2 separate regions of the Homo sapiens genome follow, and region 2 is linked to region 1. Evidence: promoter capture Hi-C in human tissues and cell types (Jung and others, 2019). All regions are on one chromosome and are shown on one strand. Each heading gives the region's core, a stretch centred on a gene start or on the middle of the fragment in contact. The rest is flanking DNA. Distances are from core to core; before and after follow the strand shown.

Region 1 (4,720 bases), core at 1,279-3,778:
GCTCCATTTTCCAGATGTGGAAATACATCAGAGAAGTTTGCGCATTCCCACAGACAGAGCTAGTGAGGGACAGGTAACTATCAATTATTTGTGGGCTACTAGGCGTAAGCTCTTCTGTGTCCCTCCCATTCTCCCTTGTTTACTAGCACCAGCGTGCAAGGCAAGGCAAAGGTAAGTAACTACCATTTACTGAGCCCTGCGCTCCAGCATTCATACACTCTCACGTCACCAACAACTTAACTCCTTTGAGAGCAATATGCCCACTTTAGAACTGAGAAGAGGTATCCAGAGCAGTTAAGTAACTTGCCCAAGTTACACCGCCGGCAAGTGACAGAGCCAAGGTCCATCAGGGTTTGCCTGATCCCAGACTCAGTGAGTGTGGAGACTGCCTCTCCCTTCTGCTGTCCTCTGGCATCCGAGCCGAGTAGGGAGCGCAGAGGAAGCCCGTGCTGCAGACTGGGCAATTGCACTTACTCCCAGAGGGCAGCTGGGTCCCCCAGGGTGAGCGAGTGAAGCCGTGGGGAAGAGTCTATATTTTTCTAACAGGCCAGGAGGGCCTAGATTTCCCTACTTTCCGCTGAGCATCTTTTCTCCAGAACTACTTCCAGAATCCTCTAGATTGGAAATGTTGACCCCCAACATTCACCCTCTAGTGGAGCACTAATGGAGGGCAGACTCCCCTGTCCTCTGGGTTATCAGTTTGCGGGGAGGGGCCGTTGGGGAACCCTTAATGATCTCTCCAGCCTCTCTTCCCTTTCCCGGCGACCTTCTCTTGCGGGCTCCAGACCTCGGCTCTCTGGAGTCCTGGGGTGTCACCCGCTCTCAGCTCCGCCCGCTTCTCCGGTTTCCCTGGCCATAAAACCCTCGCCTCAAGCTCTAAAGCGTTTCCCTGATGTTCCGATTCAGGTGGAAAACTTTTTTTCAAGGTGTAAATTTTCTCTGCTGGGGTCGTGATTTATTCCGCTCTGAAGTCAGCGGAAATTTGACCCGTGTTTTCCGAAGTGAGAATAGGGGGCGGGGAAGCCCCTTCGACCCTTGTTTCTAAATCTCCACCTCGAAGACCTGGGCATTTCTGAAAGGCGTGACAATAGGGGGTGGGCCGGAGAGGGTAATTCGATGCAGAGAATTGAAAGGAAGTCTGCAGAACGGGGCCGTGGCTTAGAAACGCTATCATTAAGACAGAAAAAAAAAGTGACTGGGGTTTCTTAGCCCTGAAGGGCTGCAAATGAGCGCGCGACAAGAGTCGCGATTCCCTGCATTCGGCACTTCCCGAAGCTCCCGAAGTGACAAGGGCGAGCAATGGGACACCCTCGGCCCCTCCACCAAAACCCAAGTCTACCCTGGCTTTACCCGCACTACCCTTCTCCCGGGAGCTCCAGCTGTCTTCCCCCCGGCTACCAGGCACAAGCCCCGCGCTCCTCACTGTCCCTGGCAAACTTTCCCTGCGGGCCGACCCGCAGAGACCGCAAGTGGCGGGAAGCGGGACTGCAAATGAATAGAGGACCATGATCTGAAACGCGACCACCCACTCATCCCTTGATTCCCCCACCCGGCCGCGTCCCCCTGGCGCACAGACCCAGGAAGGCGCATAGACCTGCCTGGGTCTGTGCATCCTCCCGCGCACACATGCAGCCGCCGCCGTTAGGCGGGCGGGGATATGTCCCCGAGGGCCCCGCACTTACGCGCAGTGATGCCTGGGTGCTCCAGTTCGCGGCGGTCGTTGGTGCAGCCGCCCTGCTCCAGCCTGGCGTCGGCCGCGGCGCAACAGTAGCGGAGCGCGCAGGAGCCGCAGCAGATGGTAGCGTCCAGCGTGTCGAAGTCCTCTGGGCACTGGAAGCCCTCGTGGTAGTTGCCCTGCACGTCCACCCAGCCGTGGCAGTACTCTCCGGACTGCTGGGCGCCCGCCGGGCCCCAGCGCAGCCAGCCAAGGAGAAGGCAAAGCGCCAGCAGTGCCCTCATCGCCACTGGGCTCCCTGGGCGGCCGGGAGCAGGACGCAGCTGGAAAGCGAAGGGCTGAGCCCGGGCTCAGGGCGCACAGCGATTCCGCCTCCCCAGGGACACGTCGCAAGCTGCTGGCCCCGGCGGCCGAAGCCAGTCCTGCGTGGGATAGCAGGGGCCGGGGAGGCGACAGGGGCTGCACTACGAGTTCCGCAGGCCGGGAGTCAGCATGGTGCGCGGGGCGAGTTGGCGAGGGCCTGCGGGAGGCGCCGGCAGAGGCAGTTGCTGGGGCTGTCGCTGCCGCCCTTCGCCCGGCTCATAGCGCTCCCCGCGCGAGGGGCGCGCCAACCCCCCGGCCACCTCCCTCCCCACTCCTCAAGGGAGCCATAGCGCCCGGGGCTGCCAACTCCAGCGCCGCACAGAGTCCCAACCTGTGGCGATCGCCGGGTCCCGAGAGGAGCCGGAGGAAAAGAATTTGTTCCCCACGTGCGAGTACCCCAGACAGGCGGCCGCTCAGCCCCAGCCCCTATCTGTCACAGGAGCAGGAGTCAGCTCCGCCGCGGCCAAGTACAAACGGCCGCGGGGTTGCTGACAGCTCTGCCCGCAAGGCGTCTTTTAAAAAGGAAGAGGGAGGAGGAGACAATGAGGGTTAAGAAAGAGTCCGCCCTCCCGGATCGCGCCTCTGGAGCTAATCACAGCGGGTGCGGCGCGGGCCGAGGGTCCTCTGCGCTTTCTGGTTCGCGCTCCATCCTCCGCCTCCCCCCGGCCACCCCCGCCCATGCCGCTCCCCCAGGACTTGACTCTCAACCTGAAGATATCAGACCCTCCCCTCCCCCGCCGCACACCCCAACTCTCTCACAGCCCGGAAATCTCTGCAGAGTGACGTTGAGGGCTGCCGAATTCCCGCGTTTATCCACGCACGTGGGCGCGCGAGTGGAGACGCTGGATTTACTTTTCAATGGATATAATGCATGAATGCGGTGCAGTCATTGAAGTTTGTCGAATCATCTGTGCCCTGTTGCACAGACTCAGACTCGTTCCTGGGATACCGCTTCTAAAGGTTCAGGACCGAGAACATGGTTTTTAGGTGTCGCCAACATGTGCTGAGCTTTCCACCTACGTTTCCACTTTTTCTGGGAGGAACGGCACATTTTCACAAGCACACACACACACACACTCGCACTTTTTCCGCCGGCTGAAGGATTGCCGGTCACCTCTGCCAGCCAAGGCCAGCTCGCAAAACCTCAAAGAGCACGACTTCTCCGTTCACGCCCGCAAAGGAAATAAAGGAGCAAAATTAATGATAATTGAGCAGAACTGAACTTCTGTTCAGGGAAAGAAACACATTTATTTAAATGATGTGTCCCCTGTGGGCTATTTTCAGGGGCACTGCTCCGTTAGCGGCCTAAGTGCCTTATGAAACTGGTGTTATGTGAAACCTGGGCCAAACGCAAGCATTTATTTTGACTGCATCCTGAACTTCCAATCATCGTCTATTGGTATGTGTGAATATGTTCGGTGTATCTCGGCTTATTTGTCAAACAAGCTGCATACCCGTGTCCCTGAGTTAGATGTCGGCAAGTTGAGTGAAACAAAAGGAACAAAGTGTTCTCAGCTCCAGCGACACAAGGTGCGCGGTCAAACGCATTTATCACGTTCGCAGCTTCCTGATGAACCGAGTCGATTCCGGAGAAACTTTTTTAAAAATCTCCTATTAAAACGATTTCTTTTTTTTTTTTTTTTATCTAAGTTAAAGTATATTCCAATTAAATAATTACTTCTGATTTCTAATTTTAGGTATTGGGATTAGCATTTAGTTATGTGGCTGCTGAAAATACATGTCCATTTCACACGTTAAGTGGGACCGTGTAAATATTTAACTTTATTGCTCTCTTAGAGTTACATATTTCTTAGGACAATACGAAGCTATTAAGTAAAAACAAATTAAGTTGGAGCTTTCAATAACAAACAATGAAACAGTTTTTTAGTTAAATAGTTTAAGCATATGGGAAATTGTTTTGCAGAAATTTCTTAGATATTGGGTTTTTTATTTACAAAAAAAAGGTCTTGCCAGACTTAATCTTTTTTTTAACTCTAGTTGTTTTTTAGGAGTGTTGTTTCAATTGTATATATATCCTGAGCAATTACAGGAAAATGTCACTTAGAAACACAGCAAAAATGAGATATAGTGATTATAATCAGATGATAAAAATTATGACATGTTTACTGCTAATAACTTTCCCAGAACCACACCTTTTAATATTAGTTTTTGTTAAAATTTAGAGGAATTTCATTACGTCATAACTGCATAAAGTTCTGCTGCAGCAGCAACCTTTGCTGGTCCCCCAAGGGTCAAGTTTCTCTCATTATCCAGCTGTTCTTTGATAGCATTAATATTTTAAGGAGTGATTTGTTGGCACTTACCTCCCATTAATTACATTCTCCATGCCACAGTGGGATTCTTTTTCCTGGAGACACCAGCTATAATTAATTCCCTCATTCAAAGCTCCTGTCTACTTGACTTATTTAGAGGGCATTTTACCCAAATTTAGTTGGATGATGTTTACTAATGGAAAGTAACCAAACCTCCAAATTACTTGATCCTTCGTAGATCTGACTTGTGTGAACAGTAAACAACTGTGCACCATGCTTCAGATCTAGGTCCTCATCCTAAGCACCTTTAAAACCATTACAACAATCAGCTTCAGGAGTTTGCCTGGGCGAGGGGTTGGGGGGAGGCAGTGATATGTTTGGTTTCTTGTCATAGAAGATCTCTGCAAAC
Region 2 (4,720 bases), core at 1,231-3,730, 240 kb after region 1:
GAAAGCTTGGCATTCTTCCAAGTTGAATGAGCCAATAAATTTCCCTTTGTACTTAATCTGGTTTGAGTTGGATTTCTGTCTCTTGCAACCAAGAGTCAGAATGTAAAAGACTAAAACTTTAAATCTCTTCCTTAACCTCTCACAGAAGGTGTCTGCATAAGTTAAATGTATTTCCCTCTCTTAAAAAGGACTATTTCTTTTATACCCAGTAAACTTGTCATCTTGCTAGCCTCAGTCCTCTTCACATTAAATCCATTTCTTTCGTTTTCACTTCCCACTTAGCCCAGACTTCAAGCAGATGTGATTGCTTTCTAACTGCAGTAACTTACTTTGTCTTTGGGGAGACAGGAAGATACTCAGTTTGCTCATAAATAGCAAAATGCTCAGGCATCCCAATGTGTACTTGTTTTCCATGTGGTAACCTTCATACCATGATGTGTTTATTCTAGTGACATTGCCAGTGCTTCAAGCAATCGTTTTCAAGATAGTTGTATATTAAAATCACCTGAAGATATATGTTTAAATCACCAATAACAAGGTCTCACCTCAGAAATTCTGTGTTAATTGCTCAAGAGAGGGGACCAAGTATCAGTATTTTTCAAAATTCTTCCAGCCAAGGTTAAGTCAGCCAAGGTTAAGATTGGCTGACTAAAAATATGTTCATATATGTCTTTAATAATTTTTATGAGTGATTCAACTAGAATAACTTGTTCTCTGTCCATGCTTTTTGTGGTAGTGTCAGAAAAAGCTTGGAGGCATTAGCCCTATGTAACTGTCCTTCACCATTTCCTGGGATGTGCTTGAATTCATTAAGGCATATTGGACATTTCCAGAGATGTGATGGAAATGAGCAAGGGACCCTGTTCTTTTTTTTCTGAGACAGGGTCTCACTCTGTTTCCCAGGCTGGTGTGCAGTGGAGTGATCACAAGTCACTGTAGCCTCGGACTCCTGGGCTCAAGTGATCCTCCCATCTCAGTCTGCGAGTAGCCAGGACCAAGGTGCATGTCACCATGCCCAGCTAACTTTTTTTATTTTTTGTAGAGGCAGTGTTTTGCCATGTTGCCCAGGCTAGCTGAGCTCCTGAGCTCAAGCAATCTGCCCACCTCAGCCTCCCAAAGTGCAGACCCTATTCTTAATAGCCACACATTGGCCCTTTGTTCTGTGGCCTCCTAAGAACTCACTGTTCATGCCCAAGTGTACATATCTGTTGTGTATATTTAAGTCTTCTGTCAATATGTATGAAATCATACAAGTTCTGATAGACTTGCAAAAAAATCAAATACTTGACCTTTTTGGCATAACTCATTCTGATAGAGATTATCATATAATCTACATATGGTATATGATTATCATATATGTATATATACCATACACCTACATATATGGCATATGTATTAGCTTGCTAATGCCGTAATAAGTACCACGTATATGCATTAGTTTGCTAATGCTGCAATAAGTACCATGTATATGTATTAGTTTGCTAATGCTGCAATAAGTACCACGCTGGGCATGGTGGCTCATGTCCAAAGTCCTATAATCCTAGCACTTTGGGAGGCCGAGGCAGGTGGATCACCTAAAGTCAGGAGTTCGAGGCCAGCCAGGCCAACATGGTGAAACCCCATCTCTACTAAAAATACAAAAATTAGCCAGGAGTGGTGGCAGGCAATTGTAATCCCAGCTACTCGGGAGGCTGAGGCAGAAGAATCACTTGAACCCAGGAGGTGGAGGTTGCAGTGAGCTAAGATCACGCCACTGCACTCCAGCCTCGGCAGCAAGAGTGAAACTCCATCTAAAAAAAAAAAAGAAGTACCACAAACTGGGTGGCTGAAACAACAGAAATTTGAACAGAGACAGGGACGTAGGGAGAATGTCATGGAAGATGAAGATGGAGATTGAAGTGGTATTTCTACAAACTGAGGAACACCAGAGATTGCTAGCCAACCAACACCAGAGGGTAAGAAAGAGTCATGGAATGGATTCCTTCTCATGGCCCTCAGAAGGAACCAATCCTGCTGACACCATTTGGTTGAATCTTGGTTGGATCTTGGATTTGTAGCCTCTAGAACTCTGAGGCAATAAATTTCTGGGTAAGCCATTCCGTTTGTGATATGGCAGCCTTTTCTTTTCCCTTATGGAAAAGAAAAATCTGACTTTGCAGTCATTCACTTTTGATGCTGGAGTGGTGGGGAGAAAGACCCACAAGTTTGAATTACCTGAAAACAATAAGTTAAAGGATCACTGTTGGTCTTCACGCAATATATAAAGTCTGTTACCAGCTACTTTTTGGAGACCAAAGAAGAGGTTAAAAAAAAATAAAAGTCCTTGTTCTTTCCTAGCCTAGAAAACAGATCCAAAAAGTCCAGCTGCCTGGACATTTCTTATATAAGTCAGTTAGACACTTATCACAATTTTAGAAGCGAAATCATATTTCTATTGGTTTCCAAAAACTAGTGCTTACAGAAGCTTTGTTAGTAAACCATGAAATACTCCAGACAACCAGAACACCAGACAAATCCAGCTGCTTTCTTGGCTGGGGGCAAATGGCATGCATTAATTTATAAAAATTCTAATAAAGTGTATAATGTGTGATGTTACAAAACTGCAAGTTGCCAATATTTAAGATTATATTTCAGTGGCTCATTTCAGAAGCTTCTCTGTGGAAGTGGCCCTCCTGTGATGGTATGGAATAAAACCTTGACTTAAACACCAATAACCATTATGAACCGATCATTTCCTGTCGTAGCACAGTACCCAGAGAAAGTTAAGAGTGGCCAGGATGGAAATGGATCTTGCTGGAAAAGACTGCAAACTCTTCTTAGGAATTAAATCCCCAACAGTTTGACTTGCTGTTATCGTATATTCTCAACTTTCTCTTCCTAACTCTTTTCTCCTTTTTTCTTCCTGGCTTTAGTATCCAATTTTATTCTCTTAAATATCTCAAGTGGCTGGGTGCAGTGGCTCATGCCTGTAATTCCAGCACTTTGGGAGGCCAAACCAGGAAGATCACTTGAGCCCAGGAGTTCAAGACCACGCTGGGCAATGAAGTGAGACCCTATCTCTCCAAAAACAAACAAACAAACAAACAAACAAACAAACAAGAAAAAAAGCTGAGCGTGGTGGCTGAAACCTGTGATCCCAGCTATATGTAAGGCTGAAGCAGGAGGACTGCCTGAGCCCAGGAGGTCAAGGCTTCAGTGAGCCAGGTTTGCACCACTGCACTCCAGCCTGGGTGACAGAGCGAGACCCTGTCTCCAATAATAATAATAATAATGAAATTAAAAAAAAATTAAATATCTTAAGCTCATACTTATGTCCATGGTGCTTTCAGCTCTTTGGGAGGAATGTTTCTTTAGGAGTTGGAAGAAAGTGAAGAATAGAGAATAAAAGGTTAAATTTATGAAACTTGACAAGGTACATTTGCTACACTGATAAAGAGAAGAATATTGGGCTAACTTCTTCAATGATTTGCTTGGTGACTTTGGGGAAATTTCTTCAGTTCTCTGAAGGGAAATAGCCACAACGTCATAATATTGGAAGGGTCAATGGACAAATAAACTAATCCATTATCAAGACCCAATTAGCCAATAGTCAATTCTGGAGCTGATGGGAAAGAGATAATCTCTTGCACACAGTTGACAACTGCTGGTGGCCAGATAGACACTGTAAAGGAAAGACCTGCCAGAGAATGAATCAACACAAAGAAAACTGGAGGCAAGAATGGACAGGGGTAGATTACTAATAACACCATGTGAGCACCCATGCCTGCAGATATATCTCTGCATTATTCAAGCTATAAACATATTTGCTTAAGTCCATTTGAGTGGATTTCTGTCACTTGCTACTAAAAGAGTCTTAATGATTCTAGGATTCTATTAGTGAAAAAAAAAATGGTAATTAGATCAAAGATGACTGTCCTCTTCTACTCTTTAAAAGGATTCCAAAAACGTCTTAGAAACCATCATAGAAAGGTGTAGTGTTACGATATATATTGGTTTTCATCCACTGTTCCTGGCTCACAACTCTCATAGCCCTTGTTACAATCTTTTGTGACAATGTTGAGTATGTTAGGCCTCAGGTGCAAGCCTGAGGAAACGCAAACTCTGCCCCGCCCTCCTCTCACCTGCCCCAAGGCTGAACTTTAATCTTCCCCCCACCTTTCTGACTGTGGGTCTTTTTTTTTTTTTCTTTCAAATCTCCTATTCTGAGAAGCAGGACTGTGGGTCTTAATACCCGTGCCAGAGAGGGCCCCACTCTATACACTGGGAGAAGGAATGCTGACATCATGAAGCTTCTATAAAAACCCAAAAGGAACTGGGTTCCAAAGTCTTCTGGATAGCTGAGCACGTGGAGGTTCCTGGAGGGTGGCATGCCCAGGCAGGGCATGGAAGCCCTGAGCCTTTTCCCTCATATCTCACCCTACACGTTTCTTCATCTATACCTTTTGGAATATCCTTTATAGTAAACTGGCAAAGGTAAGTAACGGTTCCCCTGAGTTCTGTGAGCTGCTCCAGCAAATTAACTGAACCCAAAGAGGGGGTCATAGGAACCCCAACGTGAAGCCAGTAGGTCTGAAGTTCCGGAGGCCCGCACTTGCGACTGGTGTCTGTGGAGGGGGCAGTCTTGGGGACTGAGCCTTCATCCTGTGTGATCTGATGCTATCTCCAGGTAGATGGTGTCAGAACTGAAGTGGCACCAGCTGGTGTCCAGTGCTTGGTGGTG

What was found. The method cuts DNA at HindIII sites, captures the fragments that hold promoters and counts their contacts. A contact is called where the count stands out against the background at its distance.
Region 2: a contact is called between a fragment that was not itself captured here and the fragment with the promoter of SHISA3 in region 1, in 1 of the 25 tissues and cell types used here (H1 embryonic stem cells).

Annotation. Positions count from the first base shown.
Region 1 is chr4:42,395,296-42,400,015 of GRCh38, reverse strand. SHISA3 (shisa family member 3) reads right to left here and starts at 2,528. Exons shown (of 2, transcript NM_001080505.3): 1 at 1,683-2,528. The coding sequence starts at 1,959. RefSeq lists silencers at 1,015-1,064, 2,705-2,784 and an enhancer at 1,591-2,480. The HindIII fragment of the contact is 30,120 bases long and covers 1-4,720 here.
Region 2 is chr4:42,159,783-42,164,502 of GRCh38, reverse strand. No RefSeq gene overlaps it. Among named protein-coding and RNA genes, the nearest start is that of BEND4, 9.5 kb to the right of the region's middle. The HindIII fragment of the contact is 4,206 bases long and covers 378-4,583 here.